Regions from separate parts of the Homo sapiens genome. Here region 2 is linked to region 1. The links are contacts of gene promoters, found by promoter capture Hi-C in human tissues and cell types (Jung and others, 2019). All regions are on one chromosome and are shown on one strand. The core of a region is centred on a gene start or on the middle of the fragment in contact, and the rest is flanking DNA. Distances in the headings are between cores, read along the strand shown. Region 1 holds the start of RSPH1 (radial spoke head component 1). Region 2 holds the start of NDUFV3 (NADH:ubiquinone oxidoreductase subunit V3).

Region 1 (7,800 bases), core at 4,426-6,925:
AGCCCCATGTAGCACAGGATCTCCCACCACAACTGCTGGTTAGAGTGAGGCTATCTGCAGCATCAAAACTAGAACCAGCCTTACATATCCACCAGTAGGAAAGAGTGACCTCCACTTTGGAATGAAGGATTAACATGTAGCCAGAAGGCATAATAGTTTTGTTTTTGTTTTTGTTTTTTGAGATAGAGTTTCACTCTTGTCTCTTGTCGCCCAGGCCAGAGTGCAATGGTGCAATCTCGGCTCACTGCAACCTCTGCCTCCCGGGTTCAAGCGATTCTCCTGCCTCAACCTCCTGAGTGGCTGGGATTACAGGCGCCCGCCACCATGCCCAGCTAATTTTTTGTATTTTTAGTAGAGACAGGGTTTCACCATGTTGGCCAAGCTGGTCTTGAACTCCTGAGCTCAGGCAATCCACCCACCTTGGCCTCCCAAAGTGCTGGGATTACAGGCGTGAGCCACCGCTCCCGGCCCTGGTAAATTTTTTTAACAGTGTAGATTAATGTAGAATTTGCCCCCCAATGGGTCTGTAATTTCTTTCTCATTTCCTTGTAATCCCCTAGTACTCGACCTAGAAGACACTCAGACGTAGTTAAGCAACTGATATCCTGAGAGAGCCCTCGGAAAATGGAGTGTGATTTAAGAATAAAAAAACAAGAAAAAGAAAAAATTTCACGTCAATTTTTCTCTTTTCCTACTGCTGCATAAAGCACAGCTCTGTTGCAAAATAATATCTAACATTTAATTTGATAAACCTGTGTTGGTTGAGCACTTACTATGTGCCAAGCACTGAGCTATGTCCTTGAGTTGCTACCCAACGTGAAATTCGAGTCTATCCAATTTTCTGACATCTCGTCTCCACACTGGTGTCCACTAAACTGTTTTCCCTACTGGTTTTGATGCATCACTGAATAATCTCACTTCCTGGGTGAAAAATACTTTACATTTCTCTCTTGACAACTGTGTTTCAATAGCCTTCCATTGACCTACATACCTCAGGTATGGGCGTGTGTGTATCTGGCATTTTCCTCCTTGCTGGGTGCCAATTTTATGAGACATAATCCACAAACAGTTCAAATACCTACTTACGCTTAAGAATCTACCTGTCTATATATTTCCAGAAGCTTCAGTCTCTCCCCACCCTTATGTATATTAGTGCTAATGAATATGAGCATTAAAACTAATCTGTTCGTCACAGACTAACTTCTGATTGTCACAAACAACTGACAGAATCATCTTTGGCAGTTTGATTCTTTTCAAGAAAAAAACACGACTGAAAACGATTAAGATAAACTTGAGTTAAAATTCCCCCCCAAACATACTGATAGACAAAAGGTGCTTAACCTATTGTAAGATTAACAGCAGTACAATTAATAGTAATAGCTCCCATTTACTAAGTGCTTTACTTTGTGCTAGGCACTATGCTACTCTCATTATGAATATCTAATTTTGACCTCACAACAGCCCATTTTACAGATGAGTAGACTGACTTCAGAAAGAAGTATACGGAGCTAGGGCTCCAATCTCGGGTCTGTCTCTATCCACTAAATGGCAATGTGTGATACTACCAACACTATTTTAAAAAGTTTTCGATTCTACATGTAGATAGAACTTTTTCTATCTATATACTCTAATATGTTTGTTTATAAATATGCATATATATGAAATTGGTAAATTTACCAGAGTACAATTATTCTAATAAACAACCTCATAGTTCTATAGTTAAGATGGACCTGAACTCATTTTGTTGAAAGTCCCTGCTTTTTATCTGAACAGTGCCTACAAAAAAAAAATCTGTTTGCATTTTACTGAAGCCCCTCAGTTCTTAAGGCCTTTTCTCCACACTGTCCAGGAGAGCTCAGAAGAGACACACTTAGGGACTCAGTCGCCATGGCAACTGCCAAGCTGCAGGGCCTCCAGCTGGGAGGTGGGCCTGGAAGGTTGTGGAAAATACAGAAGGCAGCCCCAGGGTGGTTTCAACAGTTTCCCCGGCCTAGGCCATCCCACCAGGAAGCAGAAGGCACCCTGACCAGCGCCCCTGCAGAGATCAACCATGGCCAGCCTGGGACTGTTTTTCTTCTTTTTGAAGGGGTTAATGGGTAAAAGGAAATGGATCGCTCCATTTATACTTAAGAAGGACAAGAAGATCATTTCTTACGGAAGAAACGAAGTACAGAGGAACCGTGGCCACTGTTGCCCTCCACTCTCTCGAGGGCCTTCCCCTCGGCCCTCCCTCCTCCCTGCAGAGCCGCACTTGCGCGAACTTCCCACTTGGGGGTTATGGGAAGGGCCTCTGTGGATGATGGGAAAGCTCCGCAGGGGATAATGGGAATGCCTCGCGGGGGATGATGGGAGACCCCTGCCAGAGGAATATGGACAGCCCCTTTTGATTTTTAAGTAGTGAAAGAGGATTTCCTCTCATTTTCCAGTAAGGAAAAACCTCCTGATGATGTCCTCATCTTTCTGCCTCTCATCTCCCCACCACTCCCACGCCCCAGGAAAGGAGGAAGGTGGGCTGAACAAGCATTTTGAGGGCCTTCAGAATTGGAAAGCGCTGCTTCTGGCATCACCAGGCATTTCCAGGTCACTGTGGGGTTAGGAGTCAGGGATCCTGGGGCTCTGAGTGAGGCATCGACTTGGCTTGATGAAGTCCTCCTGGGGCTTCCTGGGTGCACAGAGAGGTGCCCAGAGCTCCGACTGCCTCTTGGCAGCTGTGGCTCTCAGCTGGATCTGGGCTGGGATGCAGCTTCTTTCTGGAAGGAGGAATTTAGAATCCAGTCCAGGTGCTGCTGCAGGAGATGCCGGGAGGCCCATCCTGTTGTTCACCCCTTCTTGCCTTTGGTGTCAATTATTTGGATAATTGCCAAACCCACAGTGTGGTGAAATTACTATAGATTGACTGAAAGATTTGGGAGGGAAGACCCTGGCTAATTCGTATGGGATAGAAATCAAATTGTAAACCTTAGGATTTAATAGCTATAGCTAGACGTCTAGCTGCTAATGATGTGATCCAGAACAGGGTTTGCTTAACCATGTGGTTTGCTTAAGCCACTCTCTGGTGTTTGCAATCCAAGGCATTTGAACTAGTGGTCCTCTGCTTGGTAGATGGTTTAGTCACTGCCAGAAAACTATAGTTATTTCTTTATATCACAGATCTGGGAGGCAGTATAGTGATGGGCAACAGTTGCTCTTGGGTCAGCTGGCTTGATTTGAATCCCACTAGCTGTATGATCTTGGGTAAGGATCTTAACTGCTGTCGACCAAAGTTAAGGCTGTTGAGGCGGAAATTGATAAAGGCTTATTGAAAGCCAAATTTGAAGATTGAATGGGGAAGACACACCAACAAAGTTGGGTGTGTTCCAAAGTCTGTTACAAGTTGCAGTGCTTTTATAAGAAAGTTGAGGAATGGGAAGGGGACTCCTCATATTGCAGTTGTCTTTTTTCATTGGAGGGACAATATAGAGGTTACAGTCATTGGCTACAGATGACAACATACAGGCTAAAATGTTTTCTGCATATGCACAAGACAATCAGTGAAACGTCATGATTCAGAAACAAATCAGTATCCTTTTCAGTGTCAGTAGTTTACGTATTAATTAGTACATCAACAGTCTGAGGAACTCATGATACGATTTGAGAGATTCACAGTAAGATTGTTTGCTCAAGTACAGGATGTAAAACACGAGTCATAAGACCTTCTCCAGGTAGTTAAAATATAGTTTATTCTTTTAAGTGTAGGGATGCATGACTTAACTCATGCCTGGCATGGCCTTAGGTCCTGTTTGTAAGTTGGTATCTTACTGCCACAGCGTCCATTCTGTCAGTCTTATGATCTCTATTTTAACATTAATGCTTGTTAGTTGTTGTGTCTAAACTGCACAAGGGTATTAGTGAGGCATGTTCGACCTCCCTTCCCATCATGGCTGAGAACGCAGTTTTTAAGGTTTCTGGGGCCCTCTTGGCCAAGAGGGGTCCATTCAGTTGGCTGTGGTGGGGCTTAGGAGGTTATTTTTAGTTTATAACCCCCTATAACTCCCTTTCCTTAGATGTTCAATGGAGGAATGATAGTGAGGATTTAATAAGATAACTCATAAAATTCTTAAAACAGTGCCCACACACAGTGTCAGAACTTAGTAAACACTGGTTACTGTCATTGTTAGGACAAATTTGAAAGCTAAATTTCTGACATTTTAAATGTAAAAAACGAGTATTTATTTGCATATACTTATGTTACCATTCTAGATTTCTAACATTTAAAATGCTTCTGGCATTTTATTATAAAAATAGGACATGCTTAATTGTAGTAACTGGGTAACTGCCAATATGTAGAGAAGAAAATAATAATCATCTGTTATCCCTAACTCCCCACTTTTCCCCATAAGAAAAGCTGTTAAATTTTGGTGTTTACAACATTTTTATCTTTGCATCTAAAAAACGACATAATTTTGGAATCTCGTGTGTTGTTGTAACTTGTGTATTTATTCAGTAAGTAATATATTTGGGCCTGATGATGGGTTATGGTTGTAACCTTTCATATTAGCATTGGGAAGAATCTCTAGGGGATGTGTGCTCTGGAAGATCAGCAGCTTATTCACCGCGTGGATTTGGCTTCTGGGATTCTCCCATCAAGACCAAATCCTATAGTTATTCAGTCACTCCTCCCCAGCTCCTGCAGCAACAACAAATAACACAGCTTTGCAGTCTGGGATGATGGCAGAGGAAATGGGAGATGTGAGGGGCCTTCGGCAGGCGGAGTGCGTCAGGTAAAGCAGATTTCCAAGCCTGCACGTGTACATGCGTGTGCGTCTGTGATTGTGTGGGTGTGTGACAGTGTAGGGGAGCCAGGAGCGAGAGGAGAGGACGGCGATCGTAGGGGACACCTGAGAGTCAGAGGCCCGAGGGGGCTGGGACTCATGTCGAGGTCGGGGAAGGATGTAAAACCCGGACGGACATCACTGTAGGCCGCACCTGCTGAGAGGCCAGAGCTGCCTCCTTGAGAGTGAAGTTGTTTACAGACAAGAGAAGAGATCTTGGCGGACACATCACAGCTAGCCGCGAATCCCGAAGGGTCAGCAGAGCCTAGAAAGGTAAGTGGGGGTGGGCAGCATCCCCGGAGGGGCCTGCGAGGCCTGGGGGCGGAAGGGAGCGGGCAGTGCCCGCACTGGGCAGGGGTGAAACCCTCTCGAGAGTTGGCCCGGACGCGTTTCCCGCGTCCTTCCTCTTGAGGGCCCAGTACCCAGGTGGCTCCTCGTTGTGGCGTCACAGAACAGCCGACAAAAGTGATGGATTTCAGGGGCCAGCGACGGCGAGGTCCAGGTCAGAGAGCCGGTGGGCAGCCAGGCACAGAACCCGCTCAGGCCCTGCCCAGTCCCCGCCCCCTCGCTTCCCGAGCAGTGATTGGCCGAAGCGGCCCCTCGTTGCTATGACGGCACCAGAGTGCTGCCACTGGCTCCACCTCGTCCCTTCCGCCCCGCCCCTCCGTATTCCCGGGCGGTGATTGGTCGAGGTGCCCTTCCCGTTGCTATGACAGTACGCAAAGGCTGCCAGTGGCTCCTCCCGCTTCGTCCGCGTCGCCTGTCCCCGCTCCCCATCTTCCGGGCTGGGAGGGAGGCGGGACCGGCCGCGTCTCCATGGCGACGCGGGACGCGGCGGTGGAGGCGGTTGCTACCCACCTGCTAGAGGCGCTGCGGCTGTGATCCAGGCTGGGGCGAGACCATGTCGGACCTGGGCTCGGAGGAGTTGGAGGAGGAGGGAGAGAATGATATTGGGGTGAGAGCTCCTGGTGAGAAAGGGCTTCCCAGGGTGCGCAGCGGCGGGGGAACCTCGAGGTTGGGTTTGGAGAGTGAGGAGGCGCAGAAACCAGAGGTCTGAGCCACAGCTCCCCAGGATCCCCGGCAGGGACGAAGGCCACGCCAGACACACCTGCGTGCGTCCTGGAAGTTGATGGTGAAAAGTGAAACGCTGTGACGTCTGGTTACCACATGCCGCCTCGTTCTTCCCCCACCCCCATCCTGCCTCCCATTAAAGGCAAAGATTTCCCAGCGGAAGGCTTTGGAAGTTTCCTCCTCCCTGTGTTAATTCCCATCGAGGCAGTTTTCTCGGATGAGCAGATCATCCCACGCTGCCATACTGCCCTTGAATAAGTCATTTCTGTAGCTGAGATTTGCTCCCCCGGCATTTAGATGCATGGAGGATAGTTGCTTCCTGGCAGCCTCCAAGAAATGCTGAGGAGGCCCTGGGCTCAGGAGAGGGTTCCTGAAGATATTACCTTATAGGCGTATCCTCACATGTGCTTTCTTCAGTCCCCATCTGAACTGACCCAGGTCTTTGGAGTTATTTCCTGAGTTAGGCAGCAGAGAGGAGAAAGAGGGCACATCCAGCCTGTGAGCTGGGTTCTGTGTGGGAATATTTCTATCACCCAGAGAGTAGTTCCTCCCTACTCCAGAGAGTGACCTCTCCATGGCTGACAGATAGGGAACCTCAGCCACTATGGTCTGCATGCACAGTACAGAGTTGAGGTACTTTCAGAATTAACTGAAAAATCTAGCGACTCTGCAGTGGTGCTGTCAGTGCCTGCCCAGACCTTTTTGCTAGCTCTGGGCACTCATCTCCCAGCTTCCGCCTGATTTGCTACTCAAGCTATCACCTCTGTGCGCTGGAACTACCTGCCCAGTATGGAGAGCCAGAAGTGCCTGAAATTCACATCCGGCCAGACAGCCAGTAGCTAGTGCAAGAAGCAGGACAAAGTCTGCAGTGCGATTGATGCCCCCAGAGTCCCTGTTGGATTAGGCCAAGTCTGGGACTTCACCTGCAAAGGCATCCTTCCTTAGCTGCCTGCCCTTTCATGTCTACTTCCCTGCCCTCTTTACTACTTTCTCCCAGGAGAGCACTTAAAAAAATCAGGCCAGGCGCGGTGGCTCACACCTGTAATCCCAGCACTTTGGGAGGCCGAGGTGGGCAGATTGCCTGAGCTCAGGAGTTTGAGACCAGCCTGGGCAACACGGTGAAACCCTGTCTCTACTAAAATACAAAAAATTAGCCGGGCATGGTGGCGGGCACCTGTAATCCCAGCTACTCGGGAGGCTGAGGCAGGAGAATGGCTTGAACCCGGGAGGCAGAGGTTGCAGTGAGCCGAGATCACGCCACTGCACTCCAGCCTGGGCAACAGAGCGACTCTGTCTCAAAAAAAAAAAAAAATCACTTGTTCAGGGTCTGTTTCTAGGTGAACCCAACCTGCAACACTTGACCAGCAAGATTTCTAGTTTGTCTCCTCAAATGGCCCCACTGATTTGTAACTTTTTAGTGCCTATAATTTTTAGGTTCAGATCACATTTGGGGTCATTTTAAAGGATTTCTGTCTTATTCAGCCACCCCAGCGGCTCAGTGTTGGGTGTATTGGGAAGCCTCTTGGATAGAAGGAGGGGACTTTTGTACATTTTGATGTAAACTAACCCTGAAACAAATCTGTGAGGTCGCAGATTTTTACCTTATATTCTAGGCAGGAATTAGTGGTCCAAACAGTGCTAGAAAAGGGCAAGAATTGCACAGACGTTTATTTCTGAAGTCCTCAATGTAGTGTGTCAGTACTTGTGTTATAATAAGTCTATATACATCCAATTCAATTTCTTAATTTTAATTTTTAATAAATTTTATTATGTATATTTAAGAAATACAGTGTGATGTTATGAGATACCCATGTTAAATCATTACTGGATGCTTTCAGCATTTTATTATTTACTATATTCACTCTATACCCATGTATTAGGTGCTAAGGAACATTTATTTTCTGAAGGATAGGAAAAT
Region 2 (7,800 bases), core at 1,953-4,452, 400 kb before region 1:
TACAAGCATTATTTATTTTTCTTTGTACAGGGATTTTTTGTTTGTTTGTTTTGAGATGGAGTGTCGCTGTGACACCCAAGAAGCAGTGCAATGGCACAATCTCAGCTCATTGCAACCTCTGCCTCCTGGGTCCAAGCGATTCTCCTGCCTCAGCCTCCTGAGCGACTGGGATTACAGGCGTCCGCCACCATGCCCAGCTAATTTTTGTATTTTTAGTAGAGACAGGGGTTTCACCATATTGGCCAGGCTGTTCTCGAACTCCTGACCTCAAGTGATCGGCCCGCCTTGGCCTGCAAAAGTGCTGGGATTACAGGTGTGAGCCACCATACCCAGACTCAGTATTTATTTTTGTCGAGACAGGGTCTCACTCTATCACCCAGGATGGAGTGCAGCAGTGGTGCAATCATAATTCACTACAACCTCGACCTCCTGGGCTCAAATGATCCTCTCGTCTCAGCCTCCTGAGTAACTAGGACCACAGGTGCACGCTACCATACCCAGCTACTTTTTAAAGTTTTTTCTAGAGATAGGTTTTCACTATGTTGCTCAGGCTTGTCTCAAACTGCTGAACTCAACTGATCCTCCCGCCTCAGCTTCCCAAAGTTCTGGGATTATAGGCGTGAACCCCCACGCCCAGCCTGTACAGGAATTCTTTTAAAAATTATGAGATACATGGCCAGGTGCGGTGGCTCATGCCTGTAATCCCAGCAACTTTGGGAGGTTGAGGCAGGAGGATCATCTGAGGTCGGGAGTTCAAAACCAGCCTGGCCAACATGCAGAAACCCTGTCTCTACTAAAAAATACAAAAAATTGGCTGGGTGCAGTGGCTCACGCCTGTAATCCCAGCACTTTGGGAGGCCAAGGCGGACGGATCACGAGGTCAAGAGATGGAGACCAACCTGGCCAACATGGTGAAACCCCGTCTCTACTAAAAACAGAAAAATTTGCCGGGTTTGGTGGCGGGCACCTGTAGTCCCAGCTATTCGGGAGGATGGGGCAGGAGAATGGCTTGAACCCAGGAGGCGGAGGTTGCAGTGAGCCGAGATCGTGCCACTGCACTCTAGCCTGGCGACAGAGTGAGACTTTATCGCAAAAACAAAACAAAAAAACAAAAAATTAGCCAGGCGTGGTGGTGCATGCCTGTAATCCCAGTTACTTGGGAGGCTGAGGCAGGAGAATTGCTTGAATCAGGGAGGCGGAGAGGTTGTGGTGAGCTGAGATCACGCCATTGCACTCCAGCCTGGGCATAAAGAGCAAAACTCTGTCTCAAAAAAAAACAAGATACAACTGTTCTGTGTATTGATGAGCTTAGTTCTGAAAACTGTCCTCCCACCTGAAAGCTCTCTGCAGTGTGTGCAGTAGCTACGTGTATCCCACTGCAGCCAGTCTCACAACCACCCAGCAAGGCTGGCATGATCATCCTGCTTAAGCACAAAGGAACCGAGGCTCAGAGGCCTGCAGGGCCCGTCAAGGACAGAGGCAGGAGCTCCATGAGAGCCCAAGGCTCGCTCCCAGGTCAGTGTTCCCCTCCCCAAACCACAACCCAGATGGCCACAGAATGAAGCACTCCGTTTCCACTCACACACAGACGCATGTATCTAAAAAGGGGGCTCTTTGGCTCTGCCATGATATTTTAAAATCCATTTAATCCAAATTCATAAGTCTATGATGTAGGATTGCAGACACAGACTAAAATTCACCAAAGGAGAGGATAATGTTAGCAATGAAATTCAACTAATTGTTCATCAGTAAACATTTAGAGAATGTCAAAAACATGCCAGGTAGGCTGGACACAGTGGCTCACACCTGTAATCCCAATACTATGGGAGTTTGAGGCAGGGAGATTGCTTGAGCCCAGGAATTCAAGACCAGTCTAGGCAATACAGTGAGACTTCATCTGTATGGAAAATTAAAATATTAGCCAGGGTGTGATGGTGTGCACCTGTAGTCCTGGCTACTCCAGGGGCTGAGGTGGGAGGATCACTTGAGCTTGGAAGGTCGAGGCTGCAGTGACCTATGATTGTGCCTCTGTACTACAGCCTGGGTGACAGAGCAAGACTCTATTTCAAAAAATAAACAACAACATCAACAAAACATGCCAGGGATATGCCAGGAGTGGTGGTATGTGCCTGTAGTCTCAGCTACTCAGGAGGCTGAGGTGGGAGGATTGCTTGAGCTCAGGAGTTTGAGGCTGTAGTGAGCTATGACTGTGCCACTGCACTCCAGCCTGGGAGAGAGAGCCAGAGCCCCTCTCTTAAAACAAATAACATAAAAGGAAGAAGAGAAAAAAACAATGATTGAAAAACGAGGCAGGAGTCATAGCACAAAACTAAATAACATTCCCGTGGAATCCAAGCCTCAAGTCCACACACTGTGAGAGGCAGTCAGGGGCTGGCACTCTCTTTGTATAAATACAAATATTTAAAAACTTACCAGTGTTCTGTGCACAGACCAAGGAGGAAGAAAACAAAAGAATCTAAATACTTTCAAACATTCAAACTGAGGAAATAGTATATTGATGAAAATAAGACCAAACTCAATTACTATTCTACAACCCCATATAATGATTAAAGATTTAGGACTGGGCACGGTGGCTCACGCCTGTAATTCCAGCACTCTGGGAGGCCAAGGCGGGCGGATCACAAGGTCAGGAGATCAAGACCATCCCGGCTAACATGGTGAAACCCCACCTCTACTAAAAATGTAAAAAATTAGCTGGGCATGGTGGTGGGCGCCTGTAGTCCCAGCTACTCAGGAGGCCGAGGCAGGAGAATGGTGTGAACCCAGGAGGCGGAGGTTGTAGTGAGCCGAGATTGCGCCACTGCACTCCAGCAGGGGCAACAGAGCAGGACTCCATCTCAAAAAAAAGAATTAAAGATTTAGGCCGGGCGCAGTGGCTCACGCCTGTAATCCCAACACTTTGGGAGGCCGAGGCGGGTGGATAACAAGGTCAGGAGATTGAGACCATCCTGGCTAACATTGTGAAACCCTGTCTCTACTAAAAATACAAAAAATTAGCCAGACGTGGTGGCACATGCCTGTAGTCCCAGCTAGTCCTGGACTGGGATTAAGCAAAGCCTGGAAAACCACAGATGGGTCTCAAAGAGACTGAAACAAAACAAAACAAAACAAAACAAAACAAAACAAACAACTCAGCATCAGAGGATGGAAAGTAAGGTGGCTTTCTGGCAAGCTCACTGTGCCGGGGCCATCTAAATGCCACAGAGCCTTTACCAAGGCATCACTCACTTCAGGTTGGGGTTTGGCATTTAGAAAATACAGGAAAAACCATTTCAGGGCTAAATATTCAGTCAAAGACTACGACATGACTGAAATGTTTGGTCTAAAATCTGTTATAGATCTTGTGTCTTGTATAATCTGGACACTGCTGAAAAGGAAGAAGCATAAATTACGTAGCTAGTAAAACTCACTGTCGTGCTTCGAAGGCTGACTAATCTATTTTCTTTTTGCATTCTCTTTCCCTTATGACTACCATCAAAATCTTACTTTTTGGTGGACTTTGCTTCTTGGAATTCTGTGGCTGACCCTTTTCACTCTTCCCTGATTCCGCAGACAAAGAAACCGTAGAAGCAAGTCCTCGAAACACCTGGGCTTCCTGGAGCATAGTCTGACAAAAGAATTAATGAATATGGATGTTTAGAGTAATGCCATTATAATAGCTGGTACTATATATGAATATATATATATATTTTTTGAGTCAGGGGTCTCTCTCAGTCGTCCAGGCTGGAGTGCAGTGGCACAATCATGGCTCACTGCAGCCTTCAACTCCTGGGTCCAAGCGATACTCTGACATAGCCAGGACTACAGGCACATACTACCATGCCTGGCTAATATTTTTTATTTTTTATAGAGACGAGATCTGGCTACGTGGCCCAGGTTGGTCTCAAACTCCTGGCTTCCTCAAACTCCTGGCCTCAAGCGATCCTGAAGCCCCGGCCTCCTGAAGTGCTGGGATTGGCCAGGTGCGGTGGCTTACACCTATAATCCCAGCACTTTGGGAGGCTGAGGTGGGCGGATCACTTGAGGTCAGGAGTTCTGAGACCAGCCTGGACAACCCCGTCTCTACTAAAAATACAAAAAAAAGGCCGGGCGCGGTGCGACTGTAATCCTAGCACTTTGGGAGGCCGAGGCGTGTGGATCATGAGGTCAGGAGATCGAGACTATCCTGGCTAACACGGTGAAACCCCGTCTCTACTAAAAATACAAAAAATTAGCCGGGCATGGTGGCGGGTGCCTGTAGTCCCAGCTACTTGGGAGGCTGAGGCAGGAGAATGGCGTGGACCCAGGAGGTGAAGCTTGCAGTGAGCCAAGATCGTGCCACTGCACTCTAGCCTGGGCGACAGAGCAAGACTCTGTCGCAAAAAAAAAAAAAAAAAAAAAAATTTAGCCAGGCACGGTGGTGCATGCCTGTAGTTCCAGGTACTGCAGAGGCTGAGGCAGGAGAATTGCTTAGACTCAGGAGGTGGAGGTTGCAGTGAGCTGAGATCACGCCACTGCACTCCAGCCTGGACAACAGAGTGAGACTGTCTCAGGAAAAAAAAAAAAAAAAGAAAAACAACCAAAGTGCTGGGATTGTGTGCATGTAGGTACCGTGCATATGAATATTACATATTACCACTACATGTAAGTGCAAAACATTCACATGGTATACTTCTAATGGTTATTACAGTTTTCATAATGTATGTATATTATGGACATTTTGTAAAATACAAAAAGGCTGCAAGAAGAAAACACCCGAGTTCAAGGACAATCACTATTAATATTTGGTTTAATAAAACTTCAACCAGACGTTCTCCAGTGCATTTTTTTTGTAGTCTCCAATTATTTATTAACCTACAAAATACCACGTTTCTTCTTTTTTCTTTTCTTTTTTTTTTTTTTGGAGACAGGGTCTCACTCTGACTCCCAGGCTGGAGTGCAGTGGCTCAATCTTGGCTCACTGCAACCTCCGCCTCCTGGGTTCCAGCGATTCTCTTGCCTCAGCCTCCCAAGTAGCTGGAATTACAGGTGTGCACCACCGCACCTGGCTAATGTTTTTGTATTTTGTTTTTTGAGATGGAGTCTTGCTCTGTCACCCTGGCTGGAGCACAGTGGCGCAACCTCGGCTCACTACAATCTCCGCCTCGTGGGTTCAAGCAATTCTCCTGTCTCAGCCACCCAAGTAGCTGGGATTACAGGCATGCATCACCATGCCCGGCCAAGTTTTTGTATTTAGTAGAGACGGGGTTTCACCATGTTGATCAGGTTGGTCTCGAGTTCCTGGCCTCAGGTTATCCACCCACCTTGGCTTCTCAAAGTACTGGCATTACAGGTGTGAGCTACCGCGCTTGGCTCTTCTTGTATTTTTAGTAGAGATGGGGTTTCACCATGTTGGTCTCGAATGCCTGACCTCAAATGATCCACCTGTCTTGGCCTCCCAAAGTACTGGGATTACAGGCATGAGCCACCTGCCAGGCCCTATGTTTCTTTCTGTAAAATGTTTTCTTATCCTTAGAAAATAGAGTAGAAGAAATACTATCTGGCCACTAAAATGATGTAGGTATATAAAAACTGCTTCAAAAGTGTCTACAATATAAATGTGATATTTTATATTATGCCAACTCACTCAGCATATACTCACTAAGGCCTATTAAGTGCTAGACAGTACAATGTTCTAGATGCTGGATACAGAACAGAGGTGCCTGTATGTGCACATATAAACATGAAAACGTGTATGTTCATGATTGTAAGCATGAGTACATGTGCTTATGTGAACATATAAAAGCTGATAGAAATCGTTAGGAACTAGATGCTTGAAGGAGTAATGGTAGACTGTCAATGAATTTCCCTATCTGTACTTTTAAATTATTCTGCAGGCTGAGGCACGAGAGTCGCTTAATCCCAGGGGGCAGAAGTTGCAGGGAGTTGAGATGGTGCCATTGCACTCCAGCCTGGGCCTGGGCAACAGAGTGAGGCTCTGTCTCAAAAAAAAATATATATATATTATATATTATATTATGATATATATTATATATAATATATAAATATATATTATATATTATATAAATATATAAATATATAATATATATTTATATAAACATATTATATATATTATATAATATATATTTATATAATATATTATATATTATATAAATATATAATATATATTTACATATTATATAAATATATATATAATATATATTTATATATAATATATATAATATGTATTTATATATATATATACACACACGCATATATATTCTGCAGGGAATAGTTACTGCTTTTGTAATAACAGCCATTTTAAAATTTGTAAGAGAGTGAAGTGGTCTTAGCCTTATTTTATTTATTTATTTATTCTGTCCCCCAGGCTGGAGTGCAGTGGTATGATCTCGGCTCACTGCAACCTCCGCGTCCCGGGTTCATGGGATCCTCCCACCTCAGCCTCCCGAGTAGCTGGGATTACAGGAATGCACCACCACGCCAGACTAATTTTTTGTATTTTTTAGAGACGGGGTTTCGACATGTTGGCCAGGCTAGTCTCGAACTCCTGAACTCAAGCGATCCGCCTGGCTCGGCCTTCCAAAGTACTGGGATTACAGGCAAAATCCCAAAGTGTCCGCGCCCGGCCTTGGCCTTAGCTTTTTATTTGCCGAAAAGAAAGCCCTTCTTCTCCTTTTCACAGGTCAGGTCATGTCAGCTGGCTTCTCAACGGCTGTCAGTAAGTTACCAAGTTAACCAGGTCCCTGAAAGTTCCCTCATTTCCTCTCTTGGCTAAATGGAGAAGTCACTGTCCTTCAGAGAAGCCGTGCGGGAGCCGCACAGCGGCTGACCCCAGCCGCGCGGCAGCATCACCTGGGAACGTCCACCCGAGTCTGCCGCCCAGGCATGCAGCCCTCGGGAGCGCCCGTCGGCACGGGGCACGCCAGCCTCGGCCTGGGCCTCGGGCAGCGGCGGCGGCGGACCGGCTCGGGGGAACCGCGGGACGCTCGCTGGCCACATCCGGGCCTGGCCCCGTGGCGGTCAGTCCTGGGCCCAGGGAGCGGGGTCAGCGGCCCAACTAGGACGGCTAGAGGTCGCGGACAGGCCCGGACCTGACCAGCACCGCGCCCCCTCACCCCATCCCCTACGTAGGCTCGGGGCCGCGCAGCCAGCCCAGGCTGGCTCCTCCTTTACCTTCAGCGCCCCGGCTCGTCCTTGCCGCAGCAAACACGGGGCAGCCATGGCGGTGACAGCGGGCGCACCAAGCAGGGCCACAGCAGCTGCGCGCGCACCCGCGCCTGAACAGCCGCCCCTTGGGCCGACTGCGCCAATTACAGGCCAGCTGGGGGCGGAGCAGAGGCCGTGGGTCTGCGCGCGCATCCCCAGTAGGGCTAAGTGCCTCCCTTGGGGCCACGCCCCGGATCGGGACCACCAATCACAGGCAGCAGCGTGAGGGACACGTCACCGGCTGGTGCCGATCCCTGTGCCCTGCGGGCGCCTGGGCGCTGTGGCGGGGGCGCGGCGGAGACCTGCGGGGGCTGCTGGGCACCCCTCTCAGGCGTCTGCGCTGGGCCGGCTTGCATGTCCACCCGAACGCTTCGCACTTCTTTGCCCTTGTCCTCGCAGCCTTAAATCTGCGACCTTCCCTGGGGGCACAGTCTGGTCCTACTTGATTGATAGTTCTGTGTTTTGAGAGGTTTTAAAGCTCTTCAGCTCGGGACCTCGGCGCCCACACCACGCGCCCAGCTCCCTCACCCTCTGTCGGCAACGCGGCCACCACTGCTCACTGCCCCTCCTGCATGGCCCCTGCCAACGCTAATA

What was found. The method cuts DNA at HindIII sites, captures the fragments that hold promoters and counts their contacts. A contact is called where the count stands out against the background at its distance.
Region 2: a fragment that was not itself captured here is called in contact with the fragment with the promoter of RSPH1 in region 1 in 1 of the 25 tissues and cell types used here (dorsolateral prefrontal cortex).

The regions. Positions count from the first base shown.
Region 1 is chr21:42,494,099-42,501,898 of GRCh38, reverse strand. It overlaps RSPH1 (radial spoke head component 1), which reads left to right and starts at 5,675. Exons shown (of 9, transcript NM_080860.4): 1 at 5,675-5,766. The coding sequence starts at 5,713. It overlaps RSPH1-DT (RSPH1 divergent transcript), which reads right to left and starts at 5,360. Exons shown (of 3, transcript NR_135518.1): 1 at 5,234-5,360; 2 at 4,966-5,076; 3 at 4,456-4,666. It also overlaps a transcript of SLC37A1 not described here. RefSeq lists an enhancer at 2,093-2,593 and silencers at 5,329-5,568, 5,599-5,718. The HindIII fragment of the contact is 9,831 bases long and covers 1-7,800 here.
Region 2 is chr21:42,892,755-42,900,554 of GRCh38, reverse strand. NDUFV3 (NADH:ubiquinone oxidoreductase subunit V3) reads right to left here and starts at 7,246. Exons shown (of 4, transcript NM_021075.4): 1 at 7,174-7,246; 2 at 3,508-3,628. The coding sequence starts at 7,221. It also overlaps a transcript of WDR4 not described here. RefSeq lists silencers at 6,870-7,119, 7,460-7,759. The HindIII fragment of the contact is 5,741 bases long and covers 332-6,072 here.